3 separate regions of the Homo sapiens genome follow, and all the other regions are linked to region 3. Evidence: promoter capture Hi-C in human tissues and cell types (Jung and others, 2019). All regions are on one chromosome and are shown on one strand. The core of a region is centred on a gene start or on the middle of the fragment in contact, and the rest is flanking DNA. Distances in the headings are between cores, read along the strand shown.

Region 1 (3,672 bases), core at 577-3,076, 36 kb before region 3:
CATCCCAGAATTAAGCTTACTCACCAGTCACAGGTTTTCCCAGAGGTGCAGAGCCTAACCTGATAAATATAGGATGTGGCCCAGAAAGCAGACTTGAATGCAATCTCTTTCTAAACGTGTTCTGGGCACTACAGCATGCCTGTCTCATTCTCCCACACTCACCAACAATACCATAGTCCTCCACAGACAACTTAGGGTATGTGGAGAGGGACCAAGATTATCCCTGTTGAAACTTGTTCTTCACAGAAACATAAGGGTTAGTTTCCAGCTTCATCCATCATTCTCATCAAACTATCGCAAGGACAAAAAAACTAACACCGCATGTTCTCACTCATAGGTGGGAATTGAACAATGAGAACACATGGACACAGGAAGGGGAACATCACACACCAGGACTGTTGTGGGGTGGGGGGAGGGGGGAAGGATAGCATTAGGAGATATACCTAATGCTAAATGACGAGTTAATGGGTGCAGCACACCAACATGGCACATGTATATCATGTACCCTAAAACTTAAAGTATAATAATAAAACATAAGGGTTAGGAAGAAAGTACCCCACTCCCAAACCTCCAGCATTTCTGAAACAAGAACCAAAATAAACTCTCTCAGGAAATTTATCTCTTTCCTGAGGCAGGCAAACTGTTTTTCACCAAAGGCAGTTCAGCTGAGAACCAGGTCTTTGGGGCCCATCTGGTATAAATGGAGCTTTGGAGTTTAATCCAAGTAACTCTTCATTTTTTTCCCCATCCTGATCTGAATCTCTAACCTACATATTCTTTTCAATGCTCTGCAGCCAATTAAATCTCTTGTCTAAAATAGCCTTGATAAATAATTTCTCTGAGGCTTCTTTAACTCTCTATTCTAACTTCCATACCACTTTTATATTTGCCATTGCATTTTTAAGCCATGTATTTTCTGCTAGACAGAAAGGGATGTCATCTATCTTGTCATCTGTTGGTTGACAAGTCCTCTTACAATGCCTACCATTTTGTGACAACTGAACAGTTTATTGCTTCTGTTGTTGTTGAAGGTTTTGAAATCCACCATGAAGCAAGAACTGGAGGCAGCACAGAAAAAGCATTCTCTTTGTGAATTGCTCCGCATACCCAACATATGTAAAAGAATCTGTTTCCTGTCCTTTGTGAGGTAAGTTTCATGCAGTGTGTGAGGAATGTTAAAATAGAGGAGACATAAATCCATTTCTTATTTCAAATGATACAACATGTTGAAGGAAAATATTTGGGGGATAAAAGATGATAAATCCATAAAGAGAATTGCTATTTTTAAAAGTGGTAAAAGGGTTATGAAAAGGCTGACACAGAATTAATTACACAATTTCTGTTTATAACATCATTCTACCAGGCTCATCAGTGGAGACTTATGCTAAGAACTTCAATTATAGTATAGGTTTAGACTCAAAGTTTCTTCATTTGTTTCCATTTTAATTGAGCTAATTTATAAACAGCAAATCATATGAATGTACACAGATCAATGAATATTACCAGTTATTAATATCTAGCTACCACTCAGATCAAGGTATAGAAAAAATTCTAAAACACTGGGAAATGATCACAAGTTCAGCAAGATGACGTAACAGAAAATCCTACCCCTCAACCGCACACAGAAACACTGATTAAATAATGACTGGACAAAAATACTTCTATGAGAATTTCAAAACTGAGACAAGACATTGTAATGCCCCAGATGAGCACGAAACCAAAAACAGTTGCACTGAAATGGGCAAGAAGAGTAATGTCAGTTTATACATGACAACCCCTTCCCAAAGTTGTTACAGCTCATGCCAAGAGAGGACACCCTGGCCTATGACTTTTCCCTCACAGGGAAGGAAAGAGTAGAGCATTCAGCCACACCTTGGCCTTTGGACACACTGTGTGAGGAACTGGTCTCTGTCTCCCCTCACTCAGAGCACTGATGGAACTGGCATATTTGGATGCCTAAGGTCACTGAGGACAAAGTGAGTACAAAAGAAAGCTGTGACTCACACAGCTCAGTGCAATGAAAAGAATATGCACAACTTGAGATTTCTCCCTCAGGAGGGAAAGGAGCTCAGTATGTGTCTGATATACTGATTTTCCAGGGAGCTGCCCAAGAAATTAGTTTTTTTCTAGCCCAACCATTATGCCAGTAGGACCCCACACGCACTCTAGATGCCTCAGAACTACTGAGAACAAAGACAGCTGGGTGTTAAGCTGCTACATCAGAGGACTCATGGTATGGCAGACAGATACCACAGAAAGCAAGAGATTGCCAGTTCCTGAAAAACAGAAACCAGGAAATCCCTCTAATTAGGAATCTACATGCACAAATACAGAGAAGATACTTTCACAGAGTAGAATTGAAGGTCCCCAGAATCTCTATCTGGGCTGATTGTAAAAGCCAGTCTGGGAAGACAGGAAGAGGTGGCTATTTCTTCAAATGTATAGATACCAATGCAAAGCTACAAAGAACACGAAGAAACAGAGAAATATGACACAAAAGGGAACAAAATAAATCTTAAGAAACTGATCATAAAGAAATGGAGAGATATAGACCAGGCACAGTGGCTCATGCCTGTAATTCCAGCATTTTGAGAGCCTGAGGCAGGCGGATCACCTGAGGTCAGGAGTTCAAGACCAGCCTGGCCAAACATGGTGAAACCCATCTCTACTAAAATTACAAAAATTAGCCGGGCATCATGGCCCTGTAATCCCAGCTACTCAGGAGGCTGAAGCACCAGAATTGCTTCAACCCACGAAGTGGAGGTTGCAGTGAGCCAAGATTGCACCACTGCACTCCAGCCTGGGTGACAGAGCAAAACCCCATTTCAAAAAAAAAAAAATTACAGACTTAAATGTAAGACCTAAAACTATGATAATACTAGAAGAAAGCATTGAGGAAATCCTTTAGGACATTGCTATTAGCAAAGTTTTCTTGAGTAAAAAGTCAAAAGCACAGGCAAACAAAGCAAAAAAAATGACAAATGGAATTACATCAAGCTAAAAATCTTCTGCACAACAAAGGAAAACAATCAACAAAGTGGAGAAACAACCTACAGAATAGAAAAAAAATTGCAAACTATTCAACCGACAAGGGATTAATAAATCAAACCTATAAGGAACATAAACAACTCAGTAGCAAAAAAACAAATAAGCTTATTTTTAAATGGGCAAGATACCTGAATAGACATTTCTTAAAATAAGATATACAAATGACCAACAAGTATAAAAAATGCTCAATACAGTTAATCACCAGAAAAAATGTAAATTAAAACCACAATAAGATATTATTTCACCCCAGTTAAAATATTATCAAAAAGACAAAAAAAAAAATGCTGGGGAAGATGCATATAGAGGGGGATGTTTGCACACTGTTGGTGGGAATATAAATCAGTACAGCCACTATGCAAAACAATATAAAATTTTGTGAAAAGATTAAAAATGGAAATACCATATTATCCAGCAGTCTCACTTTTGGATATATATGCAAAGGTAGAAAATCAGCATATTGAAGAGATATCTGCACTTCTATGTTTTTTGCAGCAGTATTCCCAAAAGCCAAGATATGGTATCAACCTAAATGTTTATCAATGGCTGTATAAAGAAAATGGGGTATATTGGCAGGGCGTGGTGGCCCACACCTGTAATCCCAGAATTTTGGGAGGCCAAGGTGGA
Region 2 (3,217 bases), core at 653-3,152, 58 kb before region 3:
TTAGGATACTTAGCTCTTCTTGTTGCATTTATCCCTTTACCATTATGTAATGCCTTTCTTTGACTTTTTTGATCTTTTTTGGTTTAAAGTCTGAAGTCTGTTTTATCAGAGACTGGGATTACAACCCCTGCTTTTCTTTCTATTTGCTTGGTAAATATTCTTCCATCCCTTTATTATGAGCCTATGTGTGTTCTTGCATGTGAGATGGATCTCCTGAATACAGCACACAGATGGGTCTTGACTCTTTATCCAATTTGCCCATCTGTGTATTTTATTTGGGGCATTTAGCCCATTTACATTTAAGGTTAATATGGTTATATGTGAATTTCATAGTGTCGTTATGATGCTAGCTGGTTATTTTGCCCATTAGTTGATGCCGTTTCTTCATATTGTCAATGGTCTTTACAATTTGGTATGTTTCTGCAGTGGCTGCTACCAGTTTTTCCTTTTTATATTTAGTGCTTCCTTCAGGAGCTCTTGTAAGGCAGGCCTGGTGGTGGCAAAATCTCTTAGCATTTGCTTGTCTGCAAAGGATTTTATTTCTCCTTCAATTATGAAGCTTAGTTTGGCTGGATATGAAATTCTGGGTTAAAAATTCTTTTCTTTAAGAGTGTTGATTATTGGCTCCCACTCTCTTCTGGCTTGTAGGGTTTCTGCAGAGTGATCCACTGTTAGTCTGATGGGCTTCCCTTTGTAGGTAACCTGACCTTTCTCTCTGGCTACCCCTAACATTTTTTCTGTCATTTCAACCTTGCTGAATCTGATGCTTATCTGTCTTGGGGTTGCTCTTCTCGAGGAGTATCTTTGTGGTGTTCTCTGTATTTCCTGAATTTGAATGTTGGCCTGTCTTGCTAGGTTGGGGAAGTTCTCCTGGATAATAGCCTGAAGAGTATTTTCCAATTTGGTTTCATTCTCCTCGTCACTTTCATGTACACCAGTCAATCATAGGTTTGGTCTTTTCACATAGTCCTATATTTCTTGGGGACTTTGTTCATTCCTTTTCATTCTTTTTTCTCTAATCTTGTCTTCACACCTTATTTCATTAAGTTGATCTTCAATCTCTGATATACTTTCTTCTGCTTGATCAATTTTGCTATTGATACTTGTGTATGCTTCATGAAGTTCTCATGCTGTGTTTTGCAGCTCCATCAGGTCATTTATGTTCTTCTCTAAACTGGTTATTCTAGTTAGCCATTCATCTATCCTTTTTTCAAGGTTCTTGGCTTCCTTGCATTGGGTTAGAACATGCTCCTTTAGCTCAGAGGAGATTGTTATTACCCACCTTCTGAAGCCTACTTCTGTCCATTTGTCAAGCTCATTCTGTGTCCAGTTTTGTTCCCTTGCTGCCAAGGAGTTGTGATCCTTTGGAGAAGAGGCATTCTTGGTTTTGGAATTTTCAGCCTTTTTGCACTGGTTTTTCTTCATCTTTGTGGATTTATCTACTTCTGGTCTTTGATGTCGGTGACCTTCAGATGGGGTTTTTGTGTGATTGTACTTTTTGTTGATGTTGATGCTATTCCTTTCTGTTTGTTAGTTTGACTTCTAATAATCAGGCCCCTCTGCCGCAGGTCTGATGGCATTTGCTGGAGGTCCACTCCAGACCCTGTTTCCCTGGGTATCACCAGCAGAGGCTGCAGAACAGCAAAGATTGCTGCCTGCTCCTTCCTCTGGAAGTTTCATCCCAGAGGGGCACCTGCCAGATGCCAGCTGGAGCTCTCCTGTATGAGGTGTCTGTCAACCCCTGCTGGGAAGTGTCTCCCTGTCAGAAGGCACCGGGGTCAGGGACCCACTTGAGGAGTCAGTCTGTCCCTTAGCAGAGCTCAAGCACTGTGCTCGGAGATCCACTGCTCTCTTCAGAGCCAGCAAGCAGGAACGTTTAAGTCTGCTGAAGCTGCGCCCACAGCCGCCCCTTCCCCCACGTGCCCTGTCCCAGGGATATGTGAATTTTATCTATAAGCCCGTGACTGGGGCTGCTTCCTTTCTTTTAGAGATGCCCTGCCCAGAGAGAAGGAATCTAGAGAAGCAGTCTGGCTACAGCAGCTTAGGCACTGAGCCGTGGTGGGCTCCGCCCAATTCAAATTTCCTTGTGTCTTTGTTTACACTGTGAGGGGAAAACCGCCTACTCAAGCCTCAGTAATGTTGGACACCCTTCCCCTCACCAAGCTCTAGTGTCCCAAGTCGACTTCAGCCTGCTGTGCTGGCAGTGAGAATTTCAAGCCAGTGGATCTTAGCTTGCTTGGCTCCATGGGGGTGGGATCTACTGAGCTAGACCACTTAACTCCCTGGCTTCAGTGCCCCCTTTACAGGGGAGTGAATGGTTCTGTCTCACTGGCATTCCAGGCACCACTGGGGTATTAAAAAAAAAAAAACTCCTGCAGCTAGCTCAGTGTCTGCCCAAATGACTACCCAGTTTTGTGCTTGAAACCCAGGTCCCTGGTGGTATAAGCACCCAAGGGAATCTCCTGGTCTGCGGGCTGTGAAGACCATGTGAAAAGCATAGTATCTGGGCCCAGATGCACCGTCCCTCACAGCACAGTCCCTCATGGCTTCCCTTGGCTAGGGGAGTGAGTTACCCAACCCCTTGCACTTCCCAGGCAAGGTGATGTCCCAACCTGCTTCTGCTCACCCTCTGTGAGCTGCACCCACTGTCTAACCAGTCCCAATAAGATGAGCCAGGTACCTCAGTTGGAAATGCAGAAATCACCCACCTTCTGCATTGATCTCGCTGGGGGCTGCAGACCAGAGCTGTTCCTCTTCAGCCATCTTGCCAGCCACCCCTCTTTGCCCACTTTTAATGGGGTTTTTTTATTGAAATTTTGTCTAACTTCCTTATAGATTCTGAATATCAGACCTTTATTGGATGCATAGTTTGCAAAAATTTTCTCCCATTCTGTAGGTTGTCTGTTTACTCTGTTGATAGTTTCTTTTACTGTGCAAAAGCTCTTTAGTTTAGTTAGATGCCATTTGTCAATTTTTGCTTTGGTTGCAATTGCTTTGGGTGTTTTTATCATGAAATCTTTTCCTGTGCCTATGTCCTGAATGGTATTGCCTAGGTTGTCTTCCAGGGTTTTTATAGTTTGGGATTTTACGTTTAAGTTTTCAATTTATATTGAGTTAATTTTTGTACATGGTGTAAGTAAGGAGTTCAGTTTTAGTCTTCTGAATATGTCTAGCCAGTTATCATAGCACCATTTATTGAATAGGGAATTATTTCCCC
Region 3 (3,220 bases), core at 364-2,863:
TATTGACAAACCAAAGAGAGAGGCTCAGAGGAAATCAAATCTGTTGACACCTTGATCTTAGACTTTCAGCCTTCAGAACTGTGAGAAAATAAACTTCTGTAAAGTCACCTTCTGTTAAGTCTGTGGTATTTTGTTATGCAGCCCTAGTGAACTAAAACATTTCTAACAATTTACAACAAAACCCTGTGATGTATTAGATTTCCTGTTTGGAATAGATCCATGAAAGTCATTTCCTGAACAGAGAATCTCTGCAGGCTGGACAGGAATCTGCTTTTTTTTTTTTTTTTTTTTTTTTTTTTTTTTTTTTTTGAGACAGAGTCTTGCTGTGTCACCCAGGCTGGAGTGCAGTGGCACAATCTCAGCTCACTGCAACCTTCACTCCCAGGTTCAAGTGGCTCTCCTGCCTCAGCCTCCTGAGTAGCTGGGATTATGGGTGTGAGCCACTGCACCCATCCAGGAATCTGCATCTTAAGATGTTTCACGGGTGACCAGTTTGAAATTCAAAAATAAGAACTTCTTGTAGGCAGAATAAATTCTGGAGATTCTGTTTGTTTCTTTGGGTTTCTTTTTAATCAACCTGTCTTTTCCCATTATATCCGTGCATGCTATTTAGCTGCTAGCTTTTGAATATCCTTGTAGGTACACAATTATGCCACACCTTTAACTGTAATTGTGTACTTATTATTCCCTCATTTAAAAATTGACTCTTGCAGTCCCTCATCCACTGCTTCATTATCTCAAGAATCTTCCCACAAGAGTAGGTCAAGCTGGCTGGGCATGGTGGCTCATGCCTGTAATCCCAGCACTTTCAGAGGCTGAGGTGGGCAGATCACATGAGGTCAGGAGTTTGAGGCCAGCCTGGCCAATATGATGAAACCCCTTCTCCATAAAAAATACAAAAATTAGCTGGGCATGTGGGTGAATGCCTGTAATCCCAGCTACTTGGGAGGCTGAGACATGAGAATTGATTGAACCCAGGAGGTCAAGGCTGCAGAGAGCCAAGATCCCACCGCTGCACTCCAGCCTGGTGACAGAGTGATACTTTGTCTCAAAAAAAAAAAGAGTAGGTAAAGTTAATTTGTAGAGGGATGACTCCCCTGCTCCATGGCATCTATCCAGGTATCATTAAACAGTTTCTCCTTAATCTTCCATAGCACACTGTGTATCTTCCTTATAGTTATATGATGACATTACAGTACAATTATTTACAAACCTATCATTTATATGAGACATTGAGCTCAAATTTTATTTTAAACTTATAAATAAATATATGTAAGTTAACATTGCTTTATTTACAGCAATAGCACCAGAAAGCCCAAAATGATATTTGAATGAATCAATAAATCTGGTGAAATATACTACTATAATACATAAAAGCACTATTTCCTTTCTCTTTGTTTCTTATCCTAATTTCCCTATTTTAAAAAATCTTTAAAGCCCTGTCATTGGTATGACTTGAACTGAAGCAGAACTACACTTAGCAAAAGTCAATGTTTAAACTCAACATTCCACTTTCCTTTAACTAAGAATAGTTTTTATTAACTTTTAGTAAAACTCAGTCCTAGTCCAAAAAAAGCCCTGCTCTCTGATCTTTGTACAAGAACATCATAAAGCAATTCACTTTGGATTTTCTAATATCCCATTTCTAAGAAGAATGGCAGACTATTGAACAGGTGTATTTTAGGTCACGTGGGGACTGCATCCACCTGAAAATCCACCGTTGACTTATCAGGAAACTCAGAGATCAGGATCTTTCACAGAGTAGTCTTTTAAGAAGATTCAGTTGTCAACAGCTAGCAGTCTCTTTGCCAAATAATTATATCTGTGACTTCTGAAACTATTTGGCTGCCTAAAGTTAAAGGACTTGGGGAAAGTCCTTCCACTGCTCTTCTGCAGTAGTGTCACACCACTCAGTGCAGGGCCCACCAAGAAGAAAGCAGTGTCAGGATCCACATGGCACTATGGTAACTTTGTGAAAGGGGACATTTTCTCCCTCTGAACTTCTCTTCATAAAGTCATTGTGCTTCCTCTTGGGGATCACCTGTTCAGTCTCAATGGGCTTTGATGTGCTCCTGGATCAAGTGGGTGGCATGGGGAGATTCCAGATTTGTCTGATAGCTTTCTTTTGCATCACCAACATCCTACTGTTCCCTAATATTGTGTTGGAGAACTTCACTGCATTCACCCCTAGTCATCGCTGCTGGGTCCCCCTCCTGGACAATGACACTGTGTCTGACAATGATACCGGGACCCTCAGCAAGGATGACCTCCTGAGAATCTCCATCCCACTGGACTCAAACCTGAGGCCACAGAAGTGTCAGCGCTTTATCCATCCCCAGTGGCAGCTCCTTCACCTGAACGGGACCTTCCCCAACACAAATGAGCCAGACACGGAGCCCTGTGTGGATGGCTGGGTGTACGACAGAAGCTCTTTCCTCTCCACCATCGTGACTGAGGTAAGAGGCCCCATGTAAATCTTCTGTTTATATGATTAAAGTGTTTGGAGTTAACACAAAAAAATTGACTTGCTTTATACCTTTAGTCCTTAGATGGGACCTGCAGTCAGCTCATTCTTCATTCCTTTAGCAGGTGGCAGCACCTGATTATCTATTAATACTCTACGATACAGCCAAGTGTATTAGTATTATATTGGTGTAAAAGTAAATTGTGGTATTAGACCATGAATTTTAAATCATTATAACTAGGCTCAAACACATCTTTATTAATCAAAATAGGAACCATTACAATCAACACATTTTTGGCAATGAGAAATAAGTTTGTTAATTCTGTAACATAAATATCCACGCTTTGGGATTTGACAAATTTTTCTGCATTCTGCTGGTTGTGAAAGTGTTTCTCCTACAAAATGTTGTTGAGATACTTAGTTTTGGTTGTTTTTGTTTTTTGCTTTTTGTTTTTTGAGGGAGGCCAGAGTTTTATTACTACTCAAATTAGTCTCCCTGAGCATTCGGGGAGCAGAGTTTTTAAGGATAACTTGGTGGTTGGGGGGCAGCCAGTGAGCCAAGAGTGCTGACTGATCAGGGCTGAAATCATAGGGAGTCAAAGCTGCCTTCTTGTGCTGAGTCACTTCCTAAGTGGGGGTCACAAGATCAGATGAGCCAGTTTATCGATCTGGGTGGTGACAGCTGATCCATCAAGTGCGGGATCTGCAAAATATCTCAAGCACTGATCTTAGGAGCAGTTTAGGGAGGGTCAGAAT

What was found. Contacts are between HindIII fragments. The study calls those that stand out against the background at their distance.
Region 1: a contact is called between a fragment that was not itself captured here and the fragment with the promoter of SLC22A24 in region 3, in 1 of the 25 tissues and cell types used here (IMR-90 fibroblasts).
Region 2: a contact is called between a fragment that was not itself captured here and the fragment with the promoter of SLC22A24 in region 3, in 2 of the 25 tissues and cell types used here (H1 embryonic stem cells and adrenal gland).

The regions. Positions count from the first base shown.
Region 1 is chr11:63,178,135-63,181,806 of GRCh38, reverse strand. It overlaps SLC22A25 (solute carrier family 22 member 25), which reads left to right. Exons shown (of 12, transcript NM_199352.6): 9 at 1,032-1,147. Among named protein-coding and RNA genes, the nearest start is that of SLC22A24, 36 kb to the right of the region's middle. The HindIII fragment of the contact is 4,974 bases long and covers 1-3,672 here.
Region 2 is chr11:63,201,403-63,204,619 of GRCh38, reverse strand. The region is part of intron 7 of SLC22A25 (solute carrier family 22 member 25); the gene reads left to right. Among named protein-coding and RNA genes, the nearest start is that of SLC22A25, 41 kb to the left of the region's middle. RefSeq lists a silencer at 1,948-2,127. The HindIII fragment of the contact is 4,564 bases long and covers 1-3,217 here.
Region 3 is chr11:63,142,614-63,145,833 of GRCh38, reverse strand. It overlaps SLC22A24 (solute carrier family 22 member 24), which reads left to right and starts at 1,613. Exons shown (of 10, transcript NM_001136506.2): 1 at 1,613-2,456. The coding sequence starts at 2,055. The HindIII fragment of the contact is 8,571 bases long and covers 1-3,220 here.